2 separate regions of the Homo sapiens genome follow, and region 2 is linked to region 1. The links are contacts of gene promoters, found by promoter capture Hi-C in blood cells and fetal thymus (Javierre and others, 2016). All regions are on one chromosome and are shown on one strand. Each heading gives the region's core, a stretch centred on a gene start or on the middle of the fragment in contact. The rest is flanking DNA. Distances are from core to core; before and after follow the strand shown.

Evidence for each region. The method cuts DNA at HindIII sites, captures the fragments that hold promoters and counts their contacts. A CHiCAGO score of 5 or more calls a contact.
Region 2: a fragment that was not itself captured here is called in contact with the fragment with the promoter of SERTAD4 in region 1 in 1 of 17 cell types (endothelial precursors); the score reaches 5.3 in endothelial precursors.

The regions. Positions count from the first base shown.
Region 1 is chr1:210,231,194-210,234,213 of GRCh38, forward strand. It overlaps SERTAD4 (SERTA domain containing 4), which reads left to right and starts at 1,603. Exons shown (of 4, transcript NM_019605.5): 1 at 1,603-1,818. SERTAD4-AS1 (SERTAD4 antisense RNA 1) reads right to left here and starts at 2,692. Exons shown (of 2, transcript NR_024337.2): 1 at 2,442-2,692; 2 at 263-578. RefSeq lists an enhancer at 1,481-2,014. The HindIII fragment of the contact is 4,360 bases long and covers 1-3,020 here.
Region 2 is chr1:209,840,928-209,843,947 of GRCh38, forward strand. It overlaps UTP25 (UTP25 small subunit processome component), which reads left to right. Exons shown (of 12, transcript NM_014388.7): 8 at 1-128; 9 at 1,338-1,520; 10 at 1,656-1,768; 11 at 2,524-2,769. Among named protein-coding and RNA genes, the nearest start is that of UTP25, 14 kb to the left of the region's middle. The HindIII fragment of the contact is 1,394 bases long and covers 772-2,165 here.

The sequences.
Region 1 (3,020 bases), core at 353-2,852:
AAATTATCATCATAATGGCCCACATCATGCATGAGCCAATGCAATTTAATATGGTTCAGAATAAAGCCAAGATGGATGCCCAATTCCCAATTTTAGGCATGCAACCCTGGAATGTCTTTTGGAAAAAATGAAATAATGCTCTTGGTAGGCTGTTGGGTTCATCTGTTTTAAGCATAATTGCCATCTCTCAGCTTCCTAATACCCTTAAAACCTCTGAGAGTCTTTAATGTACAAAGTTCAACAAAAACACCTTCAAAACAAATTAGTTCTAATTATGTTTAATATTGGTTTGCTGCTTTATTGAATAATCTACATTTGCTTTTAAAAAAAGGAAATTCACTTAACTGCATGTCAGTCACCCAAGTTTTAAGTGTACAAATGAAATGGAAAACATTTATTACACAAATTTAATTACAATTCTAAGAAATAAACATGCAAATTAGATAGAGTTCAATTTGCAGATGCTAATCCTCATCCTTGATCTTGTTCCTTCCTCCCTTGATTTTCAGTCTGTGCGTCTTCTTGATTCCTAGGGAGCCAGGCAGCCAGAGGTCTGGTTTTTCACAGTCGGAGGATCACTGTTTTAAAGAAGTGTTATATTTAGCACATCTGGTATAGTGGCAGTAAACAAACATTATAGTCTTTGTAACACTTTTGTGCAGGTGCCTTCTCCCGATTTTATTAGGTCTATGCCTTCCAAGCCTCTGCCTTCATTACACCTGAAATGACCCATCTCGACTATGGAGGGGTCCCTAGACAGAAGTTATGAATTAATGATTTTAAAAAATAAACTCTGAGGCCACTATAGGAGAAAATTACTATTTGCAAAATATTCTGATTCCAAGGCTTAAATTACATTCTCTTGAGCAAGGACAATCTCTTGTATTACTTTTTATTTCCTGGAGGTTTTCCCTGGAGGCTCCCCACCCAGAAAGGGTTGCCAATTCAAGTTGCAGCAGGACCAAGGTTGCTTTTTTTTTTTTTTTTAATACGTACGCAGCTCAGGAGGGAAACGGGCGGGGGCGGGCGGCGAGGGAGAATAACTGTTTGGTCCTGCAAAGACATCTGTTTCTCATCTCCGTTTGCTGTGGCAAAGGAGAAGAAAGTCTTTTGCAAAGGGTGGGAAAGGCACAGATTTTTTTTTTAATCACACGCACACACAACAACAACAAAACTAAACCAAATTTAAAAAGACAAGATATCTCGGAAGGTTCCAGAGTGAATACATTATTCGGCTGGAGCCAAGCCCCCAGGGCTAGGGCGGGAGCCCGAGAGCGCGTGGGGTCTGGGCTGCGGGCTGGAGCTGGGCCCGCGTGTCCCCGGGCACCGGGAGGGGAGGGGAGGAAAAGGAGGAGGGAGGGCGGGAAGCAGGGAAGGAGGCAGGGGGCGGGCTGGGGTGGGGGTGCGGGAAAGGCGCCCCGTGTGCAGCCTGAGGAGCGGCGGCGGCGGCCTGAGCAGAGGGAGGGAGGGAGAGCGGGCGCGCTTGTCATGTTCCCTCTCTCACCCTGGGGGCATCCTGCAGAACCTCTCCTCGGAAATCCACGGGGAAATGGCAAACAGGATTGACGGGTTTCACACGCTCCTCGCTAGACAGAGCCGCTCATTACCATAACCGTCTGCAGCGACGGCGGCGCAGCGCCCCAGTCGCGGCGGCGGGACCTGCCGGGACCCTTGCCCGCCGCGCACCCGCAGTCACCGCCGAGCGGGCGGCCGGGCCGGGACCCGCGAGTGTGCACCGGCGGCCGGGCTGGCGCCGAGCCCAGAGCGGACCAGCAGCAGCTCAAGCGCTGCGGCCGCCGCCTCCCCGCTGACCCCGCGGTAAGAGCCGGGCTGGGCGCGGGCCGCGGGGGCGGGAGGGCCGGGCAGGGTGGAGGGCGAGGGCCCCCCGGGGCTCCTGCCCTCGCAGACGGGCACCCACGCGGCCTCCCGCGCGCCCTCTTGGCACCAGGGCTGTGCCGAGGTCACCGAGTGGACTCGCAGCGGCCGGAGCGGAGTCGGGGCGGCGTGGGGGCCAAGGCACAGCTGGGCGCGGAGGCGGCGCGGGCTTTTCCCTGGGCTAGCGTGCGCCGCGGCGCCTTCACCAGGGCGGGAACCGCCGCCTCCTCTAGGGCTGCTCGGGCTGCCACCCGCGCGCACCGAGACAACTCCAGGGGCGGGTGGGGTCAGAAGCTCTGGTGAGACCTCATGGTCCTCCGTGGCCGCTTAGTCCCTCATCGTAGGGGAAGGGGTTAAGTAGGAGGGGTGCCCCCAGGTCCGGATGCCGCGGCGCTTGGCAGGTGGGGAGAGAGGGATTGTGGATGTCAGGAGCGCGCGTTTGCAAGAAAAAGGAATTGATGCAGTAGCTGACACCTTCTGTCCCCCGCCACCTCCGCCCCCGCACCCTCCTCCCAGGCAGCAGAGCTGCGCTGCGGGCGGCGGCGGCTCCTCTGTCCTCAGCTCACCTCCTCGGCGGGCTGAGGCTGCTGCCCGCCTGGTCCACGCCTCCGCCTCTCGCTTCCCTTCCTCCCCTCCCGCCTCTTCGGCCCTAGCAACTTTCCGAGTGCCCAGCTGTGGTCGCAGAAGCAGGGAATAGGCGTCCTCGCCGCCAGGTCCCACGGGCGCAGGGCGCTCCCGCAACCGCGGGCTTCCAGCGGGTTTGGCCGGCAAGGGAGGGAGGGAAGGCCGGGCCGACATCTGCTGCGGGCTGGAGCGCGGGGGCCCGGGCCAGCCCCGCCAGAGCCCTGCCAGCCGCTGTGAGTCATTTCCTTGGAATCCTACCTTTGGTGTTTATTTCCCTTAGAAGGAAACTTGGTTTTTTTTTTAAAAAAAAAAAAGGATAAGACATAAAGAATAATAATAGCTCTTATTCTTCAGAAGAGGCACACGGCTGCGGCACCGTAGAAAGACAACTTGCCTTTGTTCCCGGACACTTGGGGTGTTGTTTACTTTCTCCTGCGGCCAGCGGCCGACCGGGCGCTGCTGGCTACCCGGGGAGGGGCTGAGGGCTGCGGCACCGACACCCCGGGGGTGTGTCTGTGCGG
Region 2 (3,020 bases), core at 219-2,718, 390 kb before region 1:
TGGGCTTGAGGACCATCATTGGTGGAGAAGGAGAGAAGAAGAGAGATTTTGACTTTCTGTCTTCTATCGAGCTTCTCATCATTGATCAAGCTGACATTTACCTGATGCAGAACTGGGAGCATGTCCTGGTAATGCTGGCCATTCACATTCAGTGGGACAGTATTCATATTTAGAGGGATAAGACACCCAGTGGTTTAAGTCCTAAAGAATTATTTAAGTCCAGATTAGAACTCTTGTTTGGAAGCAAGGACACACACTCCACATTTTCTAATTTGAAAAAGTCTTTTGTCCCCTTTTCTACCCAGAGATTGTCCATAATTAAACTGTCTACAGATTAAAATTCCTGTCAGTCATTTTCAAATCTCCAGAAAAGATTTCTTTCCCTTAAAATTTCTTTCTACTAACTTTAGGGTGGGTGGATGGGTGGATGGGATAGGTTGATGGATGGATGGGTCCTCACCAGGAACATCTTTACCTAACATAATCCCACATGTGGTTTTTGCTTATGCTGTTTTGTTTGGTCTTTGGTGAAGATGGGAATACCCTGCTCAAGATTTTTTAAGGTGGGATCTTGTTTTGTAGAGAAATATAGGATGTCTTTATTACCCGATGTAATTTGTACTGTAATTTTTTTCTCCTTCTCCACACACTCTGCAGTGTTATCAGTTTTAGGACTGAAAAACTGCTTTGGAACAATCCTTATTTAGGAACTATAGGTTTATTTTTCTAAGGCATATGGGAACTCACCCCTTCTACAACCCCATGTCTTGAAGCTTGCAGGAAGTTTGGGACAAATGAAGGGTAGAACTTACTTCTAAAGTAGGAAATAAATTTATTGTACTCATTACCCTTCAATATCTATTACAAGGTAAAAATATAATTAAAATGGAAAAGGCATTTGGCATAGTCGAGTTATATTCTTAGATTTGAGGAAAAGACAGGGTGACACTGCAACTATTCCTAATGTTTTGAGAACCAGGTAATTGAGGGACAGCAGCTCTGTTTTCCATGGCATTTCCCTTCTTGTCCAAGTCTGGGACTTAGGGACCCATAGAGAGACCAGTGTGGCATTTCAGAAGTTCATTTTAAAGGAACATTCCTGTAGGTACCATTTTGATCATTTGTTAAAATTCCAGGAGGGCCAGTTTTAGCTTATCTCCTCATTGGGGATGTTTGGCTGACCATGGGCAAGTCACTCACCCATGTGAGCCTCAGTTTTCTTGTTATAATTTAGGAGATGATAGTACATGAGTTGATAGACTCGGAAAATGTTTAGCAATGTCCAACATGTAAATGCTCTCAGTCAACACTAATGGTAATATTATTTCCACTCAAAGCATTTGATGAATCACATGAACCTACTACCCCTGGACTCACATGGGGTAGACTTTTCTCGAGTGCGGATGTGGAGCCTCAATAATTGGTCCAAGTACTATCGCCAGACACTGCTATTTGGGGCCCTTCAGGATGCCCAGATCAACTCAGTGTTCAACAAGTACTGTGTCAACATGCAAGGCCAGGTGGGTTCTCGTCTTGTTTCCTCAGTATCTTCATGAGCACTGTTTATTGTTTGGGTCCTGAGGTAGAAGGAGGCGATAGCTTCTGGTCAAGAAGGGGATGGCTGTCCACCTAACGCTCTTGTTGACTACTGGCAGGTGGCCGTGAGGAATGTCCCAATGACAGGCTCTATCAGTCATGTCCTGGTGCAGCTCCCACATGTCTTCCAGAGGATGGAAGCTGAAAACCTAGCTTCAGTGATTGATGCCAGGTAACCCACTCCTCCCAGCAGGCCCCTGGGGACCACATAGAGAGATTTGACTTGGGCATACAAACCTAGAATTGGATTCCATTTTGCTTTTATTGATAACTACCAAATCAGTTGAGATAATTGAACTTAATTATGTCATTTGTCAGAGGAGGAAACTGAAGCACAGAGAGAAATAGTGACTTTGGCCTAGGTCTCATAACTAGTTAGTAGCAGGGTTATTACTATAAATCAGGACTCTTTCACTCTTGACTGTGGCATTTTAAAATTATACAGCTTTATGCTACAAAGTGTCTCATGTCAGCAAGTTAATTGTAAGCCCCTCAGGGAAAGAACTATTTTTCTAATTGTATAATTTCCCCCTTTTTCTTCATTGTGTTTAGTTAGGGGACCCCAAAGAAGCTTAGTGAGGCTTAGTATATGGTAGATGTTCAGTGATTATTTGTTGACTGTTGGACTGAGTGACTGAGTGACTGACTGACTGACTGAATAGTGTGGTGTGTACTTCCTAGAGTAATTCTCTGGGATATAATGGTATTACATCTGTTTTTTACAATGAATAGTGTTGACACTTATTTTTTTAGTGTGCTTATCAAGTTTTATCCTTACATAATCTCTTTGAGAGGAGGTAAATCATATTGGCCTCTGGGGAGGTAATCTTTTAACACGAGATTGTAATTTGCTCAGGGTCACACAGTTAAGAGACACCATAAGCTTAGCTCTAGACATTAATTTTGCCCTTTGCCATTCCAAATCAGGTTTAACTTTTTTGTGAACAAGATTTTGCCACAGTATCGTGATGCAGTCATGTCTCACACGCTCATCTATATCCCCTCCTACTTTGACTTCGTGCGTCTTCGAAATTACTTCAAGAAGGAGGAATTGAATTTTACCCACATCTGCGAGTACACGCAGAAGTCTGGTGTCTCCAGGGCCAGACACTTCTTCCTTCAAGGAGAGAAACAGTTTCTACTTTTCACAGAGCGCTTCCATTTCTACAAAAGGTAAAGTGGTGCCAGGTTTCAAGCCTCCTCTCTGAAGGGGAGGTGCAGGACAAATCATGGCCTGCTCTGAATGCATGGCAGGCTTCGTGGTGTTGAGATCATCCCTCACTCTCGCACTCTTACAAAGTAGCCAGAGAGTTTTTGGTTTGGACAGACTCTTCTTGGTTGGTTAGTTGGTTTTCTCCCAAAATGGGCATTGCTGAAGAAGGATGTAGAAACCAAAGCATACCCTGTCTATAGACCTGGCATGT